5 separate regions of the Homo sapiens genome follow, and regions 2, 3, 4 and 5 are each linked to region 1. Evidence: promoter capture Hi-C in 16 types of primary human blood cells and fetal thymus (Javierre and others, 2016). All regions are on one chromosome and are shown on one strand. The core of a region is centred on a gene start or on the middle of the fragment in contact, and the rest is flanking DNA. Distances in the headings are between cores, read along the strand shown. Region 1 holds the start of RAMAC (RNA guanine-7 methyltransferase activating subunit). Region 2 overlaps HDGFL3 (HDGF like 3). Region 3 overlaps HOMER2 (homer scaffold protein 2). Region 4 has its middle 8.7 kb from the start of SNHG21. Region 5 overlaps TM6SF1 (transmembrane 6 superfamily member 1).

Region 1 (4,866 bases), core at 792-3,291:
ACTACAGGCGCCGGCCACCACGCCCAGCTAATTTTATGTATACTTAGTAGAGACAGGGTTTCACCGTGTTAGCCAGGATGGTCTTGATCTCCTGACCTCATGATCCACCCGCCTCGACCTCCCAAAGTGCTGGGATTACAGGCGTGAGCCACCGCACCCGGCCTTTTATTCAATTATTGTAACCTTGGTTGTTACACCTCTTACCTTTACTACCCAACACCAAGACTATCCTATTCCCTCATCCATACTATCCTATATACTTTTGCTAGGTTAATGTTTCTAAAACATTACTTGGAATATTCATAGTTCTATCATTCATTCCACAAACATTTATTCAGTGCTAACGTCATGGAAAAAGCACAATGTGGGGCTGGGCTCCACGGCTCAGGCCTGTAATCCCAGCCCTTTGGGAGGCTGAGGTGGGTGGACTGCTTGAGCCCAGAGTTCGAGACCAGACTGGGCAATACTGCAAAATTCCATCTCTACAAAAAATACAAAAAATTAGCAGGGTGGTGGTGTGCACCTGTAGTCCCAGCTCTCCGGAGGCTGAGCTGAGAGGATCGCCTGAGCCCAGGAAGTCGAGGCTGCAGTATGCCATGACCACGTCACTGCACTCCAGCCTGGGCAACAGAATGAGACCCTGTGTCAAAGAAACAAACAAACAAACAAACAAAAAAAGCACAATGTTATACACTCCAGAATGTAGAAATGCATTAGATAAAGGCCTGTTTACAGTTTAATAGGGGGAAAGACTTGCAAGTAAATAATTTTAGTTCGAAGTTAGAAAGTGGTAATAACTAAATACATGAAATTCCAGAAATATGATGGACTCTCAATAGAAAGAAAAATTATTTCTAGGTAGAGATGTCACTTTCTAAAGCTTTAAATAATGGAAAGAATTTCAACATTTGGAGATGAGGGGGAGAGACAGGTATTTCATGCAAGGGACATGAGCAATCTATAAAAATGTAATAATTTATGCATGACGTACTTCACAGGGTCTGGTTTACCACTGACTGAGGGAGAATGGAAGGGGAACAGCAGAAAATAAAAAAAGTTTTGAATCCAAGTTAATAAACTTGACCTTTAATCTACAGGCAACAGAGAGCCATTGGATCAGCTATTTTGGATCACGGTGGTGCTTGAAGATGGCTACACCTATAGCAGGTATATGTAAGATAGGCTAGTAGCAGAGTGATGCTAGAGGCAGGACATCAATGAGAAAGGTACTGCACTGACACCGTGCAGGGGATGGTAATGAGAACGTTGATTAGGTGGGGGCAGTGGGTAAGAAGATGCAAGAATTACTGTAGGGGTACAATCGACAGGACTTGGCAAGTGATTGGAGCATGGAAAGGCAAGAAAGGGCATCAAATCTGACATCAAAGTTTCCAAGTTGGTTGTATTAACAAAAACGGGTGCATAGCCTGGGAAGTAATTTGGGAGGGAAGAGGCCAAGCTTTGTCGGGATATTAAGTGTTTATACATTTGCTGAACATCCCACAAGACATGGGCAAGACTCTTGGAAGTAGCTGGATACTGACGACTGAAGCTGGAGCAGAGAGGGGGTATGTTTCTGCAAAACCACATACAAAACGGACTACGGAAATCTTACTACCGAGGCTTGCCCAGGCAGGAGAGAAAGGTGTAGCATCCCTGAAGTCATCAGTCGTGTCTACTCTTCACCGCCTGCTCTCACCTCACGTTCCCCACGAAGACTCCGGGAGCAGGCGGCCGGAAGGAGCCCTTCCCTCCCTTCTCCGGTGATTCCCAGAACTTCCGTCTCTACCCGTCACCTGCTCCCAATCAAAGGAGCTTAATAGACGGCGACGTTTTCGACTGCCCAGCCACCAGGCAGGCTGAAAGTGCATGGAGGGCATCATCCACCTTTAGACAGCTACTTGCCCACACCTCATCGAGCTCTGGGCGTTGTGCCAGCATTTGAAGAAGCGATCTGTTGCAAAGCGATCCACACGGAGAGCCTTAGTTATCGCGAGACTTGACAGGCACCCTCAACTTTAGCCCGCCGGAAGCGGAAGTCAGGTGGTTGTCGGATTTTAGAGGAAGGCGCTCGGTTACATTGGAGAACTGGAGTGGTCTGGAGTTCCACGGTGTAGTGGACCAGAGGCCACCTCTCCTGGGCTTCTCAGTGTCTCGCCGGCGGGGTTCGGCCTGAGCTGGATTGACATAGCCCTTGGCGGGTGAGTCGCCCCGGACGCCCGGGAGGAGGGAGCGGGGCGGCCGAGCTGGGTGGCCAGCGAGGTGTCCTCCCCCTGTGCGGTGATCTGTACTCTTTGCTAGACCGAAGCCCGTTTACTTCTCACGGCCCATAATTTCCCTCACTTCTGGAGGTATAAGGTGCTTCGGAAGGGAGCAAATCTGCCAGAACCTTGGTAAGCAAGCTGTGATGTGCCTTGAGGACGGACTGGAAAACGCAGTTGTTTTCAGTCTGCATCTTCGTCTGTTCCCCGGGCTCACCTCCCAGGGCAGCGAAACCCCATTCTGGTTGGTTATTTCCAGGGTTAGTCGCCCGCAGCCAAAGTTCTTTGTGGTTTTATTTGTGGTGAATAAATTAGCAGTATTCAAGTACAAATCTGAAAGGCTTACCCTAAAAGAACATACATACTTTATGAAGTTTGTATTCATACTTGAACTATTTTGCTTTTGAAGGCCCAGAGGACAAATCTTGTAGCTTCTTGCTCTTGAGAACCAGTTCCCTCTTTGGAATATTAGCTTTGGAAGTCTTTAGAGCGTTTTTTTGGTTTGTTTTTTGTTTTTTTTTTGAGACGGAGTCTCGCTCTGTCGCCCAGGCTGGAGTGCAGTGGCGCGATCTCCGCCTCCCAAGTTCAAGCGATTCTCCTGCCTCAGCCTCCCGAGTAGCTGGGACTACAGGCACATGCCACCACGCCTGGCTAATTTTTTCTATTTTTAGGAGAGACGAGGTTTCACCGTGTTAGCCAGGCTGGTCTCGATCTCTTGACTTCGTGATCTGCCCGCCTCGGCCTCCCAAAGTGTTGGGATTACAGAGGTGAGCCACCGCGCCTGGCCTTAGAGCACTTTTACTCCAATTCTTTCCTTGAATAAGACTCTTATGCGCCACCCTCCCCTACAAACACCTTTTGAGAGTTTCCTTAAATAAAGTCAAGTTTGTTTTTTTCCTCCCACAGATTTAAACAACCTAAACATTAAGCAGTACAGCTGCCTCAAACCTTTGGGGTAAGTAAAGCTTGGGTCGATTAACATTCTATTTAAATTTCGTTCTCAGTAATAATACAGTTGATATTTGTTTACATGAGTATGGGTGGGGAGTCGTGGGAGAACATATGAGAACATAAAAATGGAGTAGCACCTTTTCCTTGCCTTATGATTTTTACTGCCCATCTGGATTAGGTATGGGTCATCTTTTTAGTGATTTCTGTGATCCCACTAGAATTCTAGACATGATTTTTAATTAGCTGAATTTATTTAAAACTCATTCCTTGGATTTGAGAATTTGATATAGTTTGCCAATCCCAGACACATTGAAAGTCTGATATTTGGTATTTGATAAAGCATACTAAGAGCAATAGCCTGAAAGATAAGAGTGTCAGGCTGGGCGCGGTGGCTTATGCCTGTTATCCCAGTACTTTGGGAGGCTGAGGCAGGCAGATCACCTGAGGTCAGGAGTTCAAGATCAGCCTGGCCAACATGATGAAACCCTGTCTCTACTAAAAATACAAAAATTAGCGAGCGGGCGTGCACCTGTAATCCCAGCTATTCGGGAGGCAGAGACAGGAGAATCACTTGAATTCGAGAGGCAGAGATTGCAGTGAGCCGAGATCGCGCCATTGCACTCTAGCCTGGGCAACAAGAGTGAAACTCCGTCTCAAAAAAAAAAAAAAAAAAAGGCTGGGCGCAGTGGCTCATACCTGTAATCCCAGGACTTTGGGAGGCCAAAGCGGGCGGATTATGAGGTCAGGAGTTCAAGACCCGCCTGGCCAACAAAACCCCATCTCTACTAAAAATGCAAAAATTAGCTGGGTGTGGTGGCGCGTGCCTGTAATCCCAGCTACTTGGGAGGCTGAGGCAGGAGAATTGCTTGAACCTGGGAGGCAGAGGTTGCAGTGTGCTGAGATCGCGCCATTGCACTCCAACTCTGGGTGACAGAGCAAGACTCCGTCTGGGGGAAAAGGAAAAAGAAAAAATCTACATATTGTTTCTTGCAATGCAACAATAATTTCCGTTTAATTTTGTTGGGGTTAAAGTAGGTAGTATAAATGTTACAAATATTTGCATATGTTTGGAGGAAAGGCAGACTAATGAAGAAGTTATCACAATAGCTTCCATTGTCACATCTTTTTGTCCCAAACCTTTTATTGGAAGTTAATAAAGTAAGAAAAATAATTCGGGCCAGGCACAGTGGCTCATGCCTGTAATCCCAGCACTTTGGGAAGCCAAGGCAGGAGGATCACCGAAGCCCAAGACTTCCAGCCTAGGCAACATGGCGAGATCCCGTCTCTTCAAAAAATACGAAAATTAGCCGGGTGTGGGTGGCATGCACCTGTAGTTCCAGCAACTTGGGAGGCTGAGGTGGGAGGATTGTTTGAGCCAGGGAAGTCAAGGCTGCAGTGACCCGAGGTTGTGCCGCTGTGCTCCAGCCTGGGTGACAAAGTGAGAGACCCTGTCTCAAAAAAAAAAAAAAAATGTTGAATTCAATATCTAAAATATGACATGTCTGAAAGCACACAAAGACTTCCATGAATACCCCGCCTAAAAATTGCTTACTTCTTGGTTTTTCATTATTTGGAGAGAGTGTTAATTTTTAAATTTTTTTTAATGGAAATGTCTTTAAAATTGTACAGATTTTCAGAATGACTGACACTGCCG
Region 2 (5,183 bases), core at 2,675-5,174, 210 kb after region 1:
AAACAATGTACTTAATATTACATAAACTATACACTTAAAATGATTATTAAGATGGTATAAATTACATTCTATGTATTTTTACAATTAAAATTTTTTTTTAATTACAATGAGCACATAAAAAGCTTATTCCAAGTCTGGTTTTCACCTTTTCTTTACCTAAAATAAATTCAGGGTTTCTGCCTAATTGTCAAAGTGGTTAGTGTGAATTCCTTATCTCCTTTCACTTCCTCCTGGCATCCTATGGAGATGGGTGCAGACGGCAATGAATTTTAGTGCAGCTCCCTTCCACTTACTTGCTCTGTAACTGAGCAAGTCAGTTGGTAAAAGAGATTAATGCATTTTAGCTTTCTCATCCCTTCGAAAACAACACTGAAAATCATCTTAAATCTTATGTCTCAGAAGGTACTATCATTTAAATTTTCATTAAAGACTTTGAAATTGCCTGCAGGGAAGGAAAAAGCAATAGAACAAAATGTAAAGGAGGGCTCACTCAGGATGCAGTGTTATCTCTTTCTAATGGTAAGACTATATAGTTGTATTACAAATAATGTAGACAGTTCCAAAAACTACATTTCAATATCGTATGACAAAAAAAGCTGAAACCCAGTCTTTTTGTAATAAATTGCCAATTAAAAATGTCTCCATGTATTCTCTTTTCCACGCTCTTTCTTAGTCAGTTTTGGCTCATTCTTGTTCATTTAGTCTAATTGCAAAGATAGAAAAATCCTGTCATCATGTTTCAGACAAATATTGGGCAAAAAACTTGAGGATTGTATTTGTGACTAATTGTATAACAGGTTATTTTAGTTTCTGTTATGTGGAAAGTGTAAAACATTCCAACAAAGGTTTTTTAATGTAGATTTTTTTTTGCACCCATGCTGTTGATTGCTAAATGTAATAGTCTGATCATGATACTGAATAAATGTGTCTTTTTAAAAAAATAAAAGAAAAATATTGTCATCGAGATCTACATATATTGCACTTGTATTCCTCTATGTACATGTTTCTGTTCCTTAATCTATCTCAAGCTCTTTAATGTTAAAATCATGTCTTATTAATTTTTATAATGCTAAGTCTATCACAGTTACTAACCCAGAAGAGATACTCAATAAACACCTAATGAGATTATAATGGTAGAACATTAATGTTACCCAATTCACGTAGTTCTACCTTCACATGGAAATAACTGAAAATTTAAAAAGTAAAAGTTTCAATGACAGAAATTAAGAATGTTATATGCTTAAATGCTGAAAACCAGGTTCTTACAAAATTTGGCAAAGAATGAAAAAAGGGAAAAAAATCTCCTAGGAATGGTTAAAAAAATTAAGTTACATATACTTATATCTTAAAACAAAACAGAAAAGTTTTGAGTAAAATTCTGGATAAAGATGTATTAGTGAAATAAAAGCAAAAATGAAAACAGGTTACAAAACTAATATCCAACGAAGTACTATAACTTATGTGCTAGAAAGTATGAAATAGCAGATCACTATATTTTGACTCCATCCTGAAGTTACAAGTTATACACATTTATGTGCCAAATAAAGCCCTGACATTTATTAAATAAACGGTCAAAAAAAGGGACAGATATGTAGAAATATAATAGATATGTTAGATTTATATACCTCTTCATTTTGGAGAGAGTAGTTGACAAAAAATAAACATTAAGAATTTTAAAAAATATATTAGTAAATATCAATATATTTATATTTGTCCATTATATTTATTGACTTATTTATTAAGTCAATATACTTATTGACTCATTTATTAAGTCAATATACTTATTGACTCCTAAAGAAGCTTTCTTTTCAGGAATACAAAAACCATTTTTTAAAAGTTGATCACATATGAAAAGAACACTAAATGAATTAAAATAGTTAAAAAGGATACATAATCTGACTACAAGATAACCATATTAAAAAACAATAAAGCATTACATACAAACTCTTTAGCCAGTTATAATTCCTAAAATTCTCTCCTAAATATCTCTTGGGCCAACTCAGAAATGAAAATCACAAAACCTATTTTGAAAATGACTATAAAACACCAATTATTCAAATCTACATCATGAAGCCAAATATGACCTGAGGAAAACTAGCTTTAAAAGTTTTCATTTTCAAAAAGATTTCAAAAAAATTAAATAAGACTTTATTTCATTAAGTTTGAAATAGAAGAAAAGAAAAATATACTTGGGGAAAGGTAGTGAAGATGAGATCAGAAATTAATGATTTAGAGAAAAAAATAGAATTGATTAACAAAAAAGGGGGAAACAAAAATCCAAGAGGATTAGAGAAGGTTAGAGAGAGATGATTTTCATTTATAAGCAAAAGATAGGAAGGTGCAGTTAAAGCCTGTTGGCATCTATTTTCTCTATGAAGTATGAAGGTAAAACAATTTGCTGAAAATGAGGGGGAAAGGCTGGAAGAGAATAGTAAATGTATCTACTAACATCTGAGGAAGATGTACAAGGAGCTGACCTAGGGCATGCCCACTCTTGTTAAGCTGCACTACTTTTGTCATTTGCTTTTACAATATAAAAATAAGGGACACATTTGTTCTGGGTTACCTGATCCTTTGTAGTTAAATAAATCTTTATCCCAGGAGTGTACTCAAAACGAAGAATGGAGACCATGATATTTCATAACTCTACCAAAGGCTTTGTCCTTCCCCTGACATCACACATAGCATAAGATAGGGTCAGTGCTGAGCTGGAGAACAGCCAGAGTTCTTGAACACCTGGCATATCATAAAATTTAATCTAATCTTATTTCTTTTACTTCAAAATATTTCCATTTATAATAGTATAGTGGGTCTGTTTCTAATAACATTTTACATATTTTATGTGAGTCAGTGAGCCAGATGTAAGACATAAAACTGTGCTTACAGTAACTTTTCAGAAATGTTTCTTTTAAAAAATTGAAGAATGCCTTCCTATCATCAATACCAGGTTCTCTCTACTCAGATTGCTATATCTCACAGTAGCAAGGCAATCTCTTTTTGATAGGACAAAATAATTAAAAAGGAAATACAAAACCATTAGAAACATGTTAATCGCAAAAACTTTACATCCACTTTAAAGGGTACCACAAACCTGCCCTATCTTCAAGTTTCTGAACTTCACAAAAGCTCATCATCTTCAGTCATAGCTTGATACCTCCACAGTCTAGTCCCACAAACCAGGAAAACTCCACAGCCTCAATATCATCAGCCACGGAACACTAGTTTGTCAAACACTGTATATAACTCGGTAGTCAGCAAACGTGTGGAACTTACTACCTTTAAGAAGTCAATTATAGGCCGGGCACGGTGGCTCACGCCTGTAATCCCAGCACTTTGGGAGTTCGAGACCAGCCTGCCCAACATGGCAAAACCCCATCTCTACTAAACATCTAAAAAATTAGCCGGGTGTGGTGGTGTGCGCCTGTAATCCCAGCTAATTGGGAGGCTGAGGCAGGAGAACCTGGGGGCGGCGGGGAGGGGGTGATGAGGAGGGTGGTAGAGCTTGCAGTGAGCCAAGAACACACTACTGCACTCCAGCCTGGGGTGACAGAGAGAGACTCCGTCTCAAAAAAAAAAAAAAAAAAAAGAAGCCAATTAATTATATATATAGTTGTTGATACATTTGCAGTTGAAAGATTAAAAGGAAGATGAGAATTAAAATCTATATAACTAACCTTTTGGGATCAGGGGACATATTGGCCTGGATAGTTCAATGACCTAATACACTATTGCTTTAATTTATGTTCGTGTGACCTTCATGTAAGACTGTGGCTACAGCAGAATAAAAAGCTCAGGACTGTTAACAAATCATCCTCTCAAAAATCCAACTTCTGTTCTATATAAACGCATACAACTCACAGAGATTACTTTCCCTTTGGCCTACTGACCAGACCAGTGTTTTTCAAACTGTAGGTAATGAAACTCATTTAGCAGGTTGCAACCTGACTTTACATAAAATGAAATATAAAAATATCAGAATGTATCACATATAGTAAGTACAACTTGAAAATTTTTTTGTTATAGGTGCATCTTAGTCCATTTTGGGTTGCTGTAACAGAATAAATGAGGCTGGGTAATTTATAAAGAAAACAGGCTTTATTTAGCTCATGGTTCTGCAGGCTGGAAAGTATAAGCATGGTACCAGCATCTGCTCAGCTTCTGGTAAGGGCCACGTGCTAACTCAAAACATGGCAAAGAAGGTCAAAGGGAAAGTGGACACGTGAAAAGCAACCAAACAGGAGGAAGAAACTTGCTTTATAACTCACTCTTGCAAGAACTAATCTATTCTCAGAGAACTAATCTAGTCTCCAGAGAGGGAGAACTCACTACCACAGGACCAGCAACAGTACCCAAACACCTCTCGCTAGAACCCACCTCCCAACACCACCACACTGGGGATAAAATTTCAACATGAGTTTTGGAGGGGACAAACGGATCATATAAAAATCTCAGCAGTGTGTGTGTGCATGCATGTGCACGTACTGGGATGGGAATTAATATTTATTTCTCACTGTAGGTTACAGTCAAAAAACCTGAAAGCCGTTAGACTGCAATCAATCAGCAACAACAACTCATTTCCAAAGTCTAAATATTTTTTTCAAAATTATTGACTTCATCATCATGTAGTAGTCCAGGGAAGGAGATAAGAGAAGTTATAACTTGTTTTAAATTAGTTGGTTTCATTTGGAACATCAAATAGTGGTCTAGAGGGAATTTTCAATCCATTCAACATATGGTAACTCTAAAAGCATTAACTGAGAATTTATACTACTACTCCCTCTGAACAAGCATTTCCTCCAAGATCAAACATGTTATTAATAATAAAGTACTACTTCAGTGTCAAAGGAAAAGGAAATAGAGATCTGAAGTTGAGTTTATTTTCTGACCTGTCTACATCATAAAAAATCCTTAATCTTCTGTGAAACTCATTTTTATATGTGCTAACCACTACTGAAACTATCACTTAAAACCACTCTCATCTCGTATTTTGCAATAGAAACTGAGAAGTTATTACTATGTGATCAGAAATTTTCCAGTCCCCATACAGGCAACCTGGCAGCTACCACTGACTCCCCTACACTGACACCTCTACTTCTGGGTAGCTGTATAGACTCTATATTCAGACTTAGAGAATCTATTCAGAATATGAGTTTCAATGATCAAATGAGAAGAATAGTTTATTC
Region 3 (4,951 bases), core at 448-2,947, 140 kb before region 1:
AATGTTAACAGTGGTTATAATCAGATAGTGTAATAACAGGTGATTGGTTTTTTTCCCACTCATCTGGAATTTCTTTAAAAAAAGTATTATATTATTTATGTACCAAGAAAGCATTTAAAAAGGGAAACAAAAAACAGTACTCTTGGGAGAGTTCACTTATCCACTCCACTCTTCTCATTAAACTCTTATATTTGATGCAAGGAATGTCTTCTTGCCTGTCACATCATAAGACGCTGCTCTCACAACTGACGTAAAGTCGGGACTTCCTATTAAAAGCAGTACAAGAGGGTAAAAACAATAGCACAGCCTCACAGCTGTGAATCATCAGTCCTGCCCATCACTCGCCAAAACATGCACCACTTGGGACTCTGCCGTGGTTTACGGGCTCCTGCCAGGTGCCCTGGGGGTCTCTAGGGCCCAGGAGAACACTTTGCCGCAAGGCTCTGCACCGTCAAAGAGAGTAGGGCACTGAACAATTCCACTTCAAACAAAAGATCCACAAACTTCTGGTAAATGGATTCCAGAACATAGATCACCACCACCAGAAATAGAAAATAAAGTCTCCTCTTAGGTATACATATTTTTAATTAAAAACGCTTCCTTACTGTTTCTCCCACTTCCCCTTTTGCTGTTTCTTCACACACACACACACACACACACACACACACACACACACACACGCGTGCGCACATACACAGTCGTAAGTTCACTAGAACATTTCATCCAGCTCAAAATTCTTACCAAAGCCACCTTCCTGCCTGGGTAGTGTTTAAAGCCAACTAGAAAACCCATATTCTTGAGATCGGTACATGGAAGAGGCATGTAAGTAACATTTTCTAGACTAGACAGGAGTCCCTCTCCATGCCAAAACCCCCATCATCTCCAGAATATATACTGTTTCTTTGGGGAAGCCATGTACTCAGAAATTAGGGTCCTTTTAAAGCATGCATATCTTTAAAAATATACATGGACATTGATCTTGCAAGCTTCTAGTTTGCAAGTGCTTCAAAATCTAGTGATGTCTCAAGGCAATGAAAGAATTTAGCTTCTAGAAGGATGAATGGAACAAACAATCCACTTCTGGATATTAGCAAAGACCAGTGGCTGCCTCTTTTGAGTGCCTGTGCTAAGTCACATCACGTCTGCCTTCTTCCCAAAGGTGCACCTGGCCACATGTGAGGTCCCACCATAACGTCCCCAGCGCGTCCTGTGGTTGGCTCTCATCCAAAATTGTCCCTGGTTTCTATAGAGAAGGAGACTTTTCTAAAGAAAAAGAGCCCTGTTAAAATAGGCAGAGCATGATGTTTCTGGGAGGCATATTCACTGTATTACGCTCCACCCTTTACTTGATGTTTTGCATCAAATGTAGTCCACAGCAGGCAGGCGCCTGCCCACCACCATCAAGGCTGTGCTCATGGAGCCTGCAGGCTGGAGACCAACTGCCCTCTGTGCACAGTCTTCCTGGGTGTTGATCAGGTCCCGTTCAAGCTGCTCCCACCACTGAGCAAGGCTGCTCCCTCCCCAGAAAGCCAGAAAGGAGTGCATCTCCAGGAAGGGGCGGGCAGTGGACAGGCCACCCCCAGCCAGAACTCTGTTTCCATTCCTGCGATCTCAGGGCCTCCCACTTGTTTTGAACATACTGCTCTGCCTCCACTAAAGCCATCAATAAAGAACTCAGGGTGTGTTTGTTTTCCATAGAACTGGCCTCACAGGCAGAGACATCATTTTAACCAACTTTCTTGGAAAGATTCCTGCAAAACCAGAATCATTCCAAAGTGGAACTTATCATTTATAACAAACATTCCTAAATGTCATTCGGATTCACATTTTTGTAAACTGTCCTTTGCTGTGGACACATATTGAAATAATATAATTGTAATATGCTCTTATCAGGATATAAGAATTATTTTCTCTTGGCACCCACGGGTCACCAAAGGGACTAGAGTGGCATGTCTCAAAAGATACTGCATCAAGGTCCAGGAGACCTGGATGCAGAGTCCACGCTGCTGGTCACCGCTGGGTGACCCTGGGCGTGTCACTTTCTCTGTCTCTACTTCCCATCTGCAAAATGCAGGTGACAGTCTCTGCCCTGTTCTCTCACCCAATTAAAGTCTAATGTGATGGCAGGCAGGAGAGATGAAACTGAGGGGCCACACAAGTTCGAGGTCTTGTGTGGATACTGGTTCTCTTTCCCTCCAAGGCCTGACCATACTGTCCCAACCTGTTGCTCTGGTGGTTTTACATTCCCCGGGCGGCACTAGGAAGGCTTCCTCGCCACTCCCAACTTTAAAATGCATCCAGCTGGGTCTTGACTGGAATGAAAGGTTATTTTTAAAGGTCCTCTTGGTTAAAGGGTTCCAAGTTTTAGTTGATCTTTTTTAGACACCAGGTTTCATGGAGGCAGAAGGAAAGCTTATCAAGGTATAGCAGCCAGTCTTGGAAACACCAAAATCAGGAGACCTCAATTGCAAACTGAAAATGCAGTCCTGGCCCTGCAGCTTCCAGGCAGCACAAGCGGCTGCGATGCTCACGAGTGAATGGCTTACATTCTGCCTGAGTCTGGCGTAAGGTTATGACAACAGTACTGAGACTGGGCTGGATGTCAGAATAAACGAGGGCACGTCACACCAGCTCAAGGGAACACCGTCCAGGTTGCTCCAGGGCCACTATTTTAAAAGAAAGTAAATGAAAAGACACTGAGATCTTCAGAGAAAAGCAGAAGGAATGGAAAGTTCAGTGCTTTTGTAAAAGCTGTTGTGCTTTCACGGCCAAGCCCAACTTACCTTTCCCTTTAAGGGAGTCCTTACTACTCTTAGCTCCAGGGTTGCAACAGCTGTAGAGCTGGACACACAGCAGGAGGAATCCAAGTTCCTCACCTGCTGCCCACAGGATGCTCACCACACTCTTCAGTGCTTGGTGAACTGGGATCATGGGTCTCAACTGCACAGCAGCCCACTGTGGAAATGGCTCTTCCAACATTTTCTACACCTCCACTTCTGGAGTTTTCTAAAGTCACTGCTATCAGAATGTACAAGTGGCTTCAGTAACTATTCTATGCATGTCACCTGAGCATTCTCTTGTCAGTCAAGCGGGCTCTTTCTAGATTCATAAGTCACCTGATAAAGGCAGAGGTCATCTGAAGACCCCAGCGGAAGGTGTTTGGAACCCAGTGTCCACTGCTCCCAGGCAGCCACACACCCAGCCTGCTGCTGGGCAGACCAGGCTGGCTTGAGAATCCCCTTATCCCGCTGCTGGGCCACGGGGCTGACTCATAGCCAGCTCGGCTCTCTGGTCTCCTGGTGCAGCCAGGAGGGAGCTGCTACCAACTGTCCTGAGAGCCGTCTGGAGCTCTGGGGAAAGGGAAGGGCCAGCAGCAGACTACCCCGAATCACAAAGATGGCTGGCCACGCTTTCCACTTCCTGTCTGCCAAAAGCCCTATGTACTCAACCAAAGCCCCCACTCACCTTGCGGGAGCTCCTCTAAAAGTGCCTTGGTGCTCCAGATGCCCAGCCTTCCCTTCCATCCACATCCCAAACAAGACTCCCCAGCTCAGAGAGGCGTCTCCGTGAGGGGAAGGGAAGGAGAGCAGGAGGACTCGTGTTCACCTTGGGGCCCAGGGCACCTGGGTTCGGACCCCATCTCCCTCCTTCCTCGGGTTGTTTGCTCATTAATCCAAATTCAGCAGGGAGAAAGTCTAACCACGTCCATGGGAGAAGGTTTCTAGAAGGAGTAGTCCTCTTAGGTGGTTCTCAAAGGGGTGAGGGGGCACCAAAGCCTCCCCCCTGCTCAAGGCATTTAGAGATGTGTGGGGCCAGGGATTCAAGCCATTATTGCCACACACGGGCAATCTCCCAGGGCAGGATGCCAACAGCACCCACAGGCCCGCTGGCCCCACTGAGCAGCTCTGTGAGAGAGGAGAGGTTTATGGCTGCAGTCCCTTCCCTAGGAGAAACTGAAAAAGGCAGGACGCAGAGCTGGGTGGAACACCTCTGTCATGAGGGCCAAGGCTTGTCAGCTGAGCTGCTCTCTCCCCCCGAAATGCCTGTGATTTCTTCCCAGCTGTCCAGACCCATAAGACAATCCTACCCTAGGTACCAAGCCCTGGGCAGCCCCTATACCTGGAATCCCTGGGTCACCATTCCTAGGGGAGAAGGTGATTCGAGGGTCTGGAGAGCCCCAGGGGCAGAGCATCACGGATGGGCTCCAGGGGCCTGAGACCAGCTCCTGCTGCTTCCCCTTCTCCCTCCCTGCCCCAGGGCCACCCGAGCCCCAGCTTGGGTTTGACCAGACAGTGGTATTCATGTCTGTTAACTACCCAGCACAGCAAAGATGGTGCATCATTCGACAGGGTCCCAGCTCTGCTGTGGGGTTTGATTAAAACACTAAATTCTGTGTACACATTTAATTGAACAAATATTTATTAAGCACCTACTTTGTGCCAGACATTGTGCTAGGCACCCTCACTGTGTGCTGTTCCCACAGCACAATCATCTGCTCAGAAATTAAAACCAAGAAAAGGAACACTGTTGCAACCGTACAAACTGGGGGGGCGGGGGGCAGGGGGCAGTAGCGTGGATGCAGGCAACTCCGGGCCAGAAAATGCACCCACCAGAAGCTTGTTTTCCATCTCTCAGAAAGTTTCCACTAAACAGTTGTTTTAAAGCCTCTCGATGTTGACAGAGAGGAATGTTGTTCTCTCTGTGCCCCCCGGGGCTGGTGTCTGGTGGACATTCAAATACTCTGAATGCTATTTGATAAAAGGAGCCTGATGGCTTGGTGTAAAGAATATCAATATTTGGATTACAAAATGCGTGTTTTTTCAGTTCATATGGTTGCAACAGCCCTTATGAAAGATATAAACATCCCTGCCCTGACTGCATAAATGTTGAAGGTAGACCTAGTTCTGGATTCCTGAGTCAGAATCTTCCAGTTGTCCACAACCTCACAAGG
Region 4 (5,022 bases), core at 1,574-4,073, 240 kb before region 1:
AGGGAAGTGGCATTGTCCAACATGCTGGTAAATATGTATTTGCACTTCTTCTGAAGAGGAAATTTGAAAATAGGTATGTAAAGTTTCAAAAAAATTTATTCTTTTAACTAAATAAGTTAAACCTGGGTACTAATTCTAAGGAAGTCAAGATGTATGCAAAATTGTATGTACAAGGCTAGTCATTATATTACTTCAAAAATAGATTTATATATATTCTGATTATTAAAAACATGCTACTTATAAAAGAGTCAAGAAGACACAGCGATGTCCATAGAAATAAAAACAAAGACCTTAGGATTTTATCTCTTAGAACTTGCCATTGTTACAACTGGACCCCCCTACCCCTTAGTCATGTATATATATCTAATTTGAATTTTTATAACTCATTGGTTTTAAAAATGCACTTCTCTTACCTAGTTATTGATGCTCAAAATACAAATACATGCTTCCATCTTTTTTATTTTTGAGATGGAGTCTCACTCTTGTTGCCCAGGCTGGAGTGCAATGGTGTGATCTCAGCTCACCGCAACCTCTGCCTCCTGGGTTCAAGCAATTTTCCTGCCTCAGCCTCCCAAGTAGCTGGGATTACAGGCGTGCGCCACCATGCCTGGCTAATTTTCTGTATTTTTACTAGGGATGGGGTTTCTCCATGTTGGCCAGGCTGGTCTCAAACTCCCGACCTCAAGTGATCTGCCCACCTTGGCCTCCCAAAGTGCTGGGATTACAGGTGTGAGCCACCGTGCGTGGCCTTTTTTTTTTTTTTTTTTGAGAGGGAGTCTTGCTCTGTCACCCAGGCTGGAGTGCAATGGCGTGATCTCGGCTCACTGCAACCTCTGCCTCCCGGGTTCAAGCGAGTCTCCTGTCTCAGCCTCCTAAGTAGCTAGGATTACAGATGCACAACGCCACACCCGGCTAATTTTTTGTATTTTTAATAGAGACCGGGTTTCACCATGTTCCCTAGGGTGGTCTCGAACTTCTGAGCTCAGGCAATCCACCTGCCTTGGCCTCCCAAAGTGCTAGGATTACAGGTGTGAGCCACTGTGCCCAGCTGCTTGCATCATTTTATTTATTTTATTTATTTTTTTGAGACAGAGTTTCACTTTTGTTGCCCAGGCTGGAGTGCAATGGCACAATCTCGGCTCACCGCAACCTCTGCCTCTTGGGTTCAAGCAATTCTCCTGCCTCAGCCTCCCGAGTAGCTGGGATTACAGGCATGCGTCACCACCCCTGGCTAATTTTGTATTTTTAATAGAGATGGCGTTTCTCCATGTTGGTCAGGCTGGTCTCGAACTCCTGACCTCTGGTGATCCACCTGCCTCGGCCTCCCAAAGTGCTGGGATTACAGGTGTAAGCCTCCGCGCCCAGCCTGCTTGCATCATTTTAAATGAATGTCTAGTATTCTACTGTATGAATAGACCATAATTTAATCAGTGAACTCTTTTCTTTTTTTTTTTTTTTTTTGAGACAGTCTCACTCTGACACCCAGGCTGGAGCGCAGTGGTGCGATCTAGGCTCACTGCAACCTCCACCTCCCGGGTTCAAGCATTCTCCCTGCCTCAGCCTCCCGAGTAGCTGGGATTACAGGCGCCCAACACCACACCTGGCTAATTTTTGTATTTTTAGTAGAGATGGGGTTTCACCATCTTGGCCAGGCTGGTCTTGAACTCCTGAGCTCAGGCAATCTGCCCTACCTCAGCCTCCCAAAGTGCTGGGATTACAGGCGTGAGCCACCACGCCTGGCTAATTTTTGTATTTTTAGTAGAGATGGGGTTTCACCATGTTGGCCAGGCTAGTCTTGAACTACTGAGCTCAGGCAATCTGCCCTACCTCGGCCTCCCAAAGTGCTGAGATTACAGGTGTGAGCCACAGCGCCCAACCAGTGAATGCTTGATGAGCTTGTTTTTGCCTTGTTAAAATTGAAAACATGATTTATCATCTCACCCTCCTAAGTTTCATTAAAATCATACTTAAGAAATAAAAAGAGACATAAAGATATAAATAAGAGAATGGGAAAAGAAACATAAAGATCTAAACAAGAGAATGGGGAAAAGATCATTAGTAGATCAGAGATTTCAAAGAAATTTTGGAAGATAGCTGATGAAGGAATGATACTGATGCGGGGGGGAAGCAGAAGAAACTGCAGAGGGTGGAAGATATACCCCAGGAAAAAAACAATTCACACTACGGAATGCTAGAAGGGTCCAGAACCAGGAAATATCAGAGACAACTGAGTACAGGAATGAGATATAAGGCCAAGATTCCACATATGAAACAGTTTTCCTTCCCTTCCACCTCTGCATGCAGAATGCCTTACAGCCAAGAATCTACCCCCAGGGTGAAGGTGTGATAGGAGGAACACAGACCATCCAGAATTTCCCATACATTCACACATCACGCTGAAACGTTATTCTGGAAATAAATCTAAGGGCTCCGTAGAAAATCCCCTGCATTCTACCCATTACAGTAAAATGTCAGCATTCCTGTCCCATCATCTTGGCCATCAGAAAAGTTCCACACAAGAGAGCTCGTAATCCACTTATTACTTCATTAAAAAATATAAACAGTCAAGACCCCCCCACTCCAGACATTTGAGGAATACTTCCAATGTGAAATAAAGATGGGTGAGATCACGCCACTGCACTCCACCCTGGGCAACAGAGCAACACTTTGTCTCAGAAAAAAAAAAAAGAAAGAAAAGCTTAACGAACTGACATAATTTTTCTTAAATCCAGAAGAAAAGTGAGGTCACAGGGCAAACCACTATCCCCAAAATTGGAGAGGCAGACAGGTATGTACAAAAGTCACAAGCTACCCAGAGCAGAAATCTCCACAAAGGAACCAATGCCAGGGCAGAAAAACATGAACTGTAATTGAATTGCCAGAGGCAAGTGTAGACAAGTCTGAGAGTCAAAAATTCCAGAAGAAACCAGAAACAGGGGAGGGAGAACCCAAGCTTCTGTGAGTTTTACCTCCAAGAGTTTGACCAGGTTCTCACAATAAATATTAGAGAAAAATCTTGTCATGCTTCTAGCAGGAGAAGAAGAAAAAGAACCATTTCGAAACATGCCAGAGCATGCTGTTCTTAACAAAGTCTGCCCTCGGGAGAAATATTTAATCAGAGCCTAAATGGCTGGAGTTTTATCAGAGCCTAACTGGCCTGGGAGAAGGGAAAAATGCCCAACGCCAGCCCACTCTGGCCATCTTGTCCCACCTAAGGGGGAAGAAAAAAACTGAGAAGCACTTGTAAAGTTCACATTCCAGAAGCACATGCTCACTAAAAGACTGAGACCTAATCATAGGGTTCATAGAGGAATACTTTCCCTCTCCCCACACCTTACCCCCACATTACTAAAGGCCTATTTGCAGCAGTTCCTTTTCCCTGGTACATCCTGTCCAGCTATGAAGAAAAAATTACAAGGCAAACTAAAAGGCAAAACACACATTTTGAAGAGACAGAGCAAGCATCAGAACCAGACATGGCAGGAATGTTGGAATTATTAGACAAGAAATTTTAAACAACTTTGATTAATATACTAACAGCTTTAATGGGTAAAGTAGACAGCATGCAAGAACAGATGGTCAGTGTAAACAGAGAGATGGAAATCCTAAGAAAGAACCAAAAAGACGCTGGGAGCAGTGGCTTACACCTATAATCCTAACACTTTGGGAGGCCGAAGTGGGGCAGATTGCCTGAGCTCAGGAGTTCGAGACCAGCCTGGGCAACATGGCGAAACCCTGTCTCTACTAAAAATACAAAAAAATTAGCAGGGGGTGGTGGTGCGTGCCTGTAGTCCCAGCTTCTTGTGAGGCTGAGGCACAAGAATCTCTTGAACCCAGACCCAGGAAACAGAGGTTGCAGTGAGCCGAGATCATGCCACTGCATTCCAGCCTGGGTAACAGTGAGGCTCTATCTCCAAAATAAATAAATAAACAAAATAAAATAAAAACAAAAAAGAACCAAAAAAAATGCAAGAGATAAAAAACACTGTGAATAGAAAATGAAGAATGTCTTTGATGGGCTAATAGACTGGACATGGTGAGGAAAGATATGATATATGATGATATATCAACAGAAACCTTTTTTTTCTTTTTTTTTTTTTTTTTTGAGATGGAGTCTCACTTCATTGCCTGGGCTGGAGTGAAGTGGCGTGATCTCAGCTCACTGCAACCTCCACCTCCCAGGTTCAAGCAATTCTCCTGCTTCAGCTTCCCAAGTAGCTGGGACTACAGGCGCATGATGCCACGCCCGGCTAATTTTTTGTATTTTTAGTAGAGATGGGGTTTCACCATGTTGCCCAGGCTGGGACTACAGGCATACACCACCACACCCGGTTAATTTTTTGTATTTTAGTAGAGACGGGATTTCACCGTGTTGCCCAGGCTGGTCTTGAACTCCTGAGCTCAGGCAATCCACCTGCCTTGGCCTCTCAAAGTGTTGGGATTACAGGTATAAACCACCATGTCCAGCCAATAGGAAGCTTTCAAACTGGCAATAAAAGAGAACAAAGACAAAAAAAAAACAAACAAACAGAAGAGACTATCCAAAAACTATGGAACAACTACAGAAGATATAACATATGCATATTATGAATACCAGAAGGAGAGAAAAGAAAGGAATAGAATAAATTATTCATATTGTTTGAAAGAATAATGACTTGAGAGTTTCTCCAAATTAATGTCAGACACCAAACTACAGATCCAGGAAGCTCAGAGAACACTAAGCAGATAAATATAAAAAACAAAAACAGAAAACTGCAACCAGGCATATAATTTTCAAACTACAGAAAATCAAAGATAAAGAAAAAAATCCCGAAAGAAACTAGAGGGGGCCAGGTGCAGTAGCTCACACCTGTAATCTTAGCACTTTGGGAGGCCAAGGCGGGTGGATCATCTGAGGTCAGGAGTTCAAGACCAGCCTGGCCAACATGTTGAAACCCCGTCTCTATTAAAAATACAAAAAATGAGCCAGGCATGGTGGCAGGCACCTGTAATCCAAACTACCTAGGAGGCTGAGGCAGGAGA
Region 5 (5,181 bases), core at 721-3,220, 130 kb after region 1:
TATGTGTCAGTATGTGGGGAATGAGTGTTGTGCCATGCCCAGCCCAGCAAGCCACGGGATCAGCATGAATTATTAAGGCCAGCCACTGGTTCTGGAAAGCAGGGTCATCCCTGGCCACCTCTCTGGTCACTGCCAAGCACCTTGTGTCAAAGATTTGGCTTGGTCTCCATGAGTTTGCCATACAGCCAGGATTGCCTATCATGCCATCTGCCTTCGCATCACAGTACAAACCTATGTTGATGCATCATGGGCCAATTGGCCAGGCATTCTCTAATTCCATCCTCTGTGGCCAGACCCTGGTTTTGGCAGCTCCAGCGTAAAGTTGTATTTTCATGTTCCTACCAATTTTGAAGAAATAGTTTCATCTTAGCAGATGAACACAAGTTAGTTCTGCTGTTTTATTTTACTTGCAATACAGGTCTGATGTTCTGCATTTACAGGTCTTATTTAAAGTGGACTTCTTTTTAATGCTTTCTTTAGGGTGAACCGTATCTGAACACCGCATATGGGCACATGATCTGCTACTGGGATGGCTCTGCTCATTATCTGATGTACCTGGTGATGGTGGCAGCCATAGCATGGGAGTAAGTCAGTTCACCTGGTGTGTGCCTTTGCCACCTTAGCAACCGATAAGCGGGTATGTAAGGAAACGTTATGCATAGAGGCAAATACACAAGCAGGTATACTGGACATGAATATAAGTTCCATGGGTGCACGTCAGACGTGGCTTTATCCTCCTTGTACCACTGCCTTTTGAATATGTCCTTCTGAATTGCTCCCTAGCATGGTGACAGCTCGGGCAGACCCTTTAAGCTTTCTGATTATGTTGTCTTACAAGAATAATTTTTATTTTCAGCAATTAAAGCTAAGCACATCTTAAACTTCATTTCAAAACTTCAAAATTTCCAAACAGCAATCTCATTTCGGTTCAAAGCTTCTGTCCTTCCCCAGATCAGGCACAGCTCTGCGGCTTGGCTCGCACTAAGGCTTGGCTACATGGCTTGTCCGTTCACTCCTCCTGTCTCACTCTGCGGCTGGCCCCTTGGCAGTGGATGTGTATGTACAAGGGATTAAAGGAACAGGAGCCGAGTCTGATGTGAAAGGTGCTGGTTTTTGGGTATTGGTACCCCCATCATGATATGCTAGCTTGGTCTTGGGAGGCACACATGTGAGTTCTTTAGAGACCCCAACCACAGGAGCTTCTGCATTGCACTAATCCCTGAAGTGAACGACGTGCTCTTGGGCTGAATTTCTGCCCATGGTGGCACACCCACAGCTTTTTTTCTGCTGGGGCCCCTGTAACCCAGAAGGTACACCCTTTGGGGAGGGGTCTTTTCAAAACATTTCAAGTCCGGCCATCTTCTCAGGCCTCCACTTGCTTCTGGGTTACAGAAAGTCATGCATTCTTGCCCCATACAAGGTTGAAATGTAGTTTACCCAAGTATCTCCCTCACTCCCAACATGCACTCAAGGTCAGCTCCAGCTAATTCTTTTTTTTTTTTTTTTTTTTTGAGACAGGCTGGAGTGCAATGGCACAATCTCAGCTCACTGCAATCTCCGCCTCCCAGGTTCAAGCGATTCTCAGGCCTCAGCTGGGACTACAGGCGTGTGTCACTATACCCGCAAATTTTGTATTTTTAGTACACAAATCTAAACATTTTTTTCACCATGTTGGCCAGGCTGGTCTCAAACTCCTGACCTCTGGTGATCTGCCCGCCTCAGCCTCCCAAAGTGCTGGGATTACAGGCGTGAACCACCGTGCCCGGCTCCAGCTCATTCTTATCTGTTCTCCTGCTTATAATCCCAGTCATTATGAATGGGCCTCTTGGGGTCTGGTTACATTTGGCTTGAGGGCGGGGGTGGGGCAGGACGCACACAGTATTCTCGTTTCCCTTCAGAGAATTTCCTTTTGAATTTCTCATAGCCTGTTACATAGTGTGGAGTTTGGGTTATTGGGGTTATCAATTGAAGGAACTTTTTTTTTTTATTTTGAGACGGAGTCTCGCTCTGTCACCCAGGCTGGAGTGCAGTGGTGCGATCTTGGCTCGCTGTAACCTCTGCCTCCCAGGTTCAACCATTTCTCCTGCCTCAGCCTCCCAAGTAGCTGGAATTACAGGTGCATGCCACCATGCCCAGCTAATTTTTTTTTTTTTTTTGTACTTTTAGTAGAGATGGCGTTTCACCATGTTGGCCAGGCTGGTTTCAAACTCCTGACCTCAAGTGATCTGCCCACCTCAGCTTCTCAAAGTGCTGGGATTACAGGCATGAGCCACCATGCTCGGCCTGAAGGAAGTTTTTGTCAGCATTGAAGATTTGGGGTATATGTCTAGCAGCTCCTTTGCAACATGGGGTACATGTCACTTGTCTTCACCTTTGGGGCTTTGGCCAAAATTCTGTGACCCCAGAAAAAGTCCATTTAACATTATCATTGTAAGTATAACTCATACTTATAATGATTAAAAATATGGATCCAATTTCATTTCTTCTTTCAACTTTCTTTTTCCTTTCATGCTGTTGAGTTTCACACACAATAGGGAAATGCAGGAGTCCTGTGGCAGGGATGATCATGTTGTAGTTTAACAGAAGACATAGCAGGCGTAATTTCCTATTTAAAAGGACACGAAGAAGGTTCTATAGTATATCACATGGCAATGAAGTTACATAACCAGGGCTCCTTGTGTTTGATTTATTCCTCTCAATTCAATATGTTTTGATTGATGTACTTTACTAGTTTGAATACAAAATAATATTGAAGATCATTTTTTGCTTAGTATTCTAAGACAAACATACCAAGTCAAGATTTTTTTGTTGTTGTTGTTACAGGGAAACTTATAGAACCATTGGCCTATATTGGGTTGGATCTATTATTATGAGTGTTGTTGTTTTTGTGCCAGGAAACATTGTAGGTAAGAAACTTTATCTTAAAGTTCACTTTCCTTTTCTAAAACAATGGGGCTTGTTTTTAAATAGAGAAGCTCTTTTAGTTATAATAGAACCAAGTGATTCCAAGCTTACTAAAAACCTGTTTTGCAGAATAATTCCTTTTTCTCACCTTTAAAAAAAGTACTTTTTAAGAAGTGCTTTGAGCAATTTTCAGATGTGTGCATTGAACAATTTGGCAGTCAAGTTATCAGGGATTCCTGTTTTTTTAGAAGGATCTTGAGGGAGTGAGTATGGTGTTTATGGCTATATTTAGTGTGCAAATATGTTAACTCCTGACACACTATGAGAACTCCAAAAATGTACTTGGAAATTACAAGTACATTATTAATGTATGCAGGAAATCAGGATATATAGGTAGATAGATAGATAGATAGATATAGATATAGGGAGATAGATATATACAAACATATATAGATACCTATCTAGATGTATTTTTTGAGACAGGATCTCACTCTGTTGCCCAGGCTGGCTTGCAGTGGTACAGCCATAGCTCACTGCAGCCTTGATCTCCTGGGCTCAAGCAGATTACTGTAGATAGGACATGCCTGTTAATACACATCTAGTATTTTAAATTGACCTTTTTAATTTGGCCTCATTAAAAATATTGTCTGGCCCATAGCAAAATTTTAGATGACCTGAGATGGGGAGGTATCCTAAATATTACTTGTGTTAGATATGCTTTTGGTAACTTCTTTCTCTTTCTCTCTTTTAAATAGGGAAGTATGGAACACGAATTTGCCCTGCTTTTTTCTTAAGCATACCATATACTTGTCTTCCTGTCTGGGCTGGTTTCAGAATCTATAATCAGCCATCAGAAAATTATAATTACCCCTCAAAGGTGATTTTATTAAGCTTTGATGTACCCTGTTCTCAAACTCATAGGGTTCTTTCGCATCCACTGGCCACTGAATTGAACCATGCCTCTGTGGACTGGAGCATTTGGGGCATCCAAACAGTGCGACTGTTTTGATTATGTAGCATTAGCTTACGTATTAATTAATGTAGGCAAGAAGGTCTGTTTCTGTCTGAATACATCTGCTTCTGTTGGCAAGGCCATACTTTGGGGAGCTTCCTGTGCCAGTGGTCACACTGGCTCTAACTATCAGATTCTGCATTAGTGTGTCAAGTGAAGTCCATAGTGTGTGGTTCATCTAGGATTGTTAATGGCCTGGACGTTGAACACCTGGGTTCCTCTGTGACACCTATGCATTTACTACCCCAAGAGGACACTGGAGGGATACTGCTCCTCAAGGTAGTCTACACAGCCATACAATCTTGACTCCAGAGATCCAGGCCCATAGAGACTGGCTACAGGACATCTGAGACACCTCCCTTCCATTCACAGCCAAGGTAGTCAAGGTGAAACAGCACTGGCCTGGCAGATACTCTGTTAAGGCCTTCATTTCTAAGCTAGTTTCTCTCTGTTTCTTTTACTTTTCTAGGTATTAGATCATTTAGCAAGATCTTTTAAGCAAAACTGATATATGAAAATATGAATTACTAGAGATAATCAGAATACGACTATTCATTTTACAAAAGATTTTCAGTATAATTCATTAAAATACATTTTAATTGACAAATACTTCATTTGTAAACATTTAGACACCTTCTATGTAAACTCAGGCTGGCACACTGACAGCTGGTACTAACTTCCCTCTGAGGAAAGAGGTGGCTGTTAAAAAGAAAAAGCAAATAGTCAGTCCACCCTTAGTCCCAGCTCCACTGCTTTTAAAGGTTCCATGTCAGTGTGTCAACAGAGTAGGTATGCCATGAGGCATGCAGAATTACTTATCATTATTTTTAATGTGAAAACACAGTGACAGCCAGGGCCAAGCAGGCATTGTCATACAGTGCTGACAGAAACATAAATTCAGAATTGCTCTGCAAAGCAATTTGGCAATGTTATCAACCTTAATAATTCTGGAACCCAATAATTCTGCTCCTAGAGCCCTATCTTCAGGAAATCATCACACAGATACCACCAAAGATTTACAAAGTTGTTCATCATTACATTAAGTATAACAGTGAAAAATGCCTAAATATCCAACAGTGGGAGAATGGCTAAAGTGTGGTGTTTCCATATGGTATTCAGTTTGAGAAAATTTTTAAACATGTGGGAAAGTGCTTATAATATAGGCAGATGTTGAGAGCAAAAAGAACAAATACAGAATTGTTTATATACAGGAATAATTTTATATATAAAATTGTTCCTAATTTTGTGAAAAATGTAGATATATG

What was found. The method cuts DNA at HindIII sites, captures the fragments that hold promoters and counts their contacts. A CHiCAGO score of 5 or more calls a contact.
Region 2: a fragment that was not itself captured here is called in contact with the fragment with the promoter of RAMAC in region 1 in 1 of 17 cell types (erythroblasts); the score reaches 5.3 in erythroblasts.
Region 3: a contact is called between a fragment that was not itself captured here and the fragment with the promoter of RAMAC in region 1, in 17 of 17 cell types (megakaryocytes, M2 macrophages, M0 macrophages and 14 more). The highest score is 36.7, in megakaryocytes.
Region 4: a fragment that was not itself captured here is called in contact with the fragment with the promoter of RAMAC in region 1 in 13 of 17 cell types (total B cells, total CD8 T cells, non-activated CD4 T cells and 10 more); the score reaches 10.4 in total B cells.
Region 5: a contact is called between a fragment that was not itself captured here and the fragment with the promoter of RAMAC in region 1, in 1 of 17 cell types (neutrophils). The highest score is 5.6, in neutrophils.

Annotation. Positions count from the first base shown.
Region 1 is chr15:82,984,169-82,989,034 of GRCh38, forward strand. It overlaps RAMAC (RNA guanine-7 methyltransferase activating subunit), which reads left to right and starts at 2,042. Exons shown (of 4, transcript NM_031452.4): 1 at 2,042-2,201; 2 at 3,168-3,216; 3 at 4,842-4,866. The coding sequence starts at 4,851. It also overlaps a transcript of HOMER2 not described here and a transcript of C15orf40 not described here. The HindIII fragment of the contact is 1,767 bases long and covers 1,458-3,224 here.
Region 2 is chr15:83,194,489-83,199,671 of GRCh38, forward strand. All of the region lies in intron 1 of HDGFL3 (HDGF like 3), which reads right to left. Among named protein-coding and RNA genes, the nearest start is that of HDGFL3, 11 kb to the right of the region's middle. The HindIII fragment of the contact is 4,252 bases long and covers 1,799-5,183 here.
Region 3 is chr15:82,844,582-82,849,532 of GRCh38, forward strand. It overlaps HOMER2 (homer scaffold protein 2), which reads right to left. Exons shown (of 9, transcript NM_004839.4): 9 at 4,402-4,951. Among named protein-coding and RNA genes, the nearest start is that of WHAMM, 37 kb to the left of the region's middle. The HindIII fragment of the contact is 1,426 bases long and covers 985-2,410 here.
Region 4 is chr15:82,739,351-82,744,372 of GRCh38, forward strand. It overlaps the pseudogene ACTG1P17. Among named protein-coding and RNA genes, the nearest start is that of SNHG21, 8.7 kb to the right of the region's middle. The HindIII fragment of the contact is 255 bases long and covers 2,697-2,951 here.
Region 5 is chr15:83,119,098-83,124,278 of GRCh38, forward strand. TM6SF1 (transmembrane 6 superfamily member 1) reads left to right here. Exons shown (of 10, transcript NM_023003.5): 4 at 481-584; 5 at 2,824-2,906; 6 at 3,660-3,781. It also overlaps a transcript of HDGFL3 not described here. Among named protein-coding and RNA genes, the nearest start is that of TM6SF1, 14 kb to the left of the region's middle. The HindIII fragment of the contact is 2,076 bases long and covers 933-3,008 here.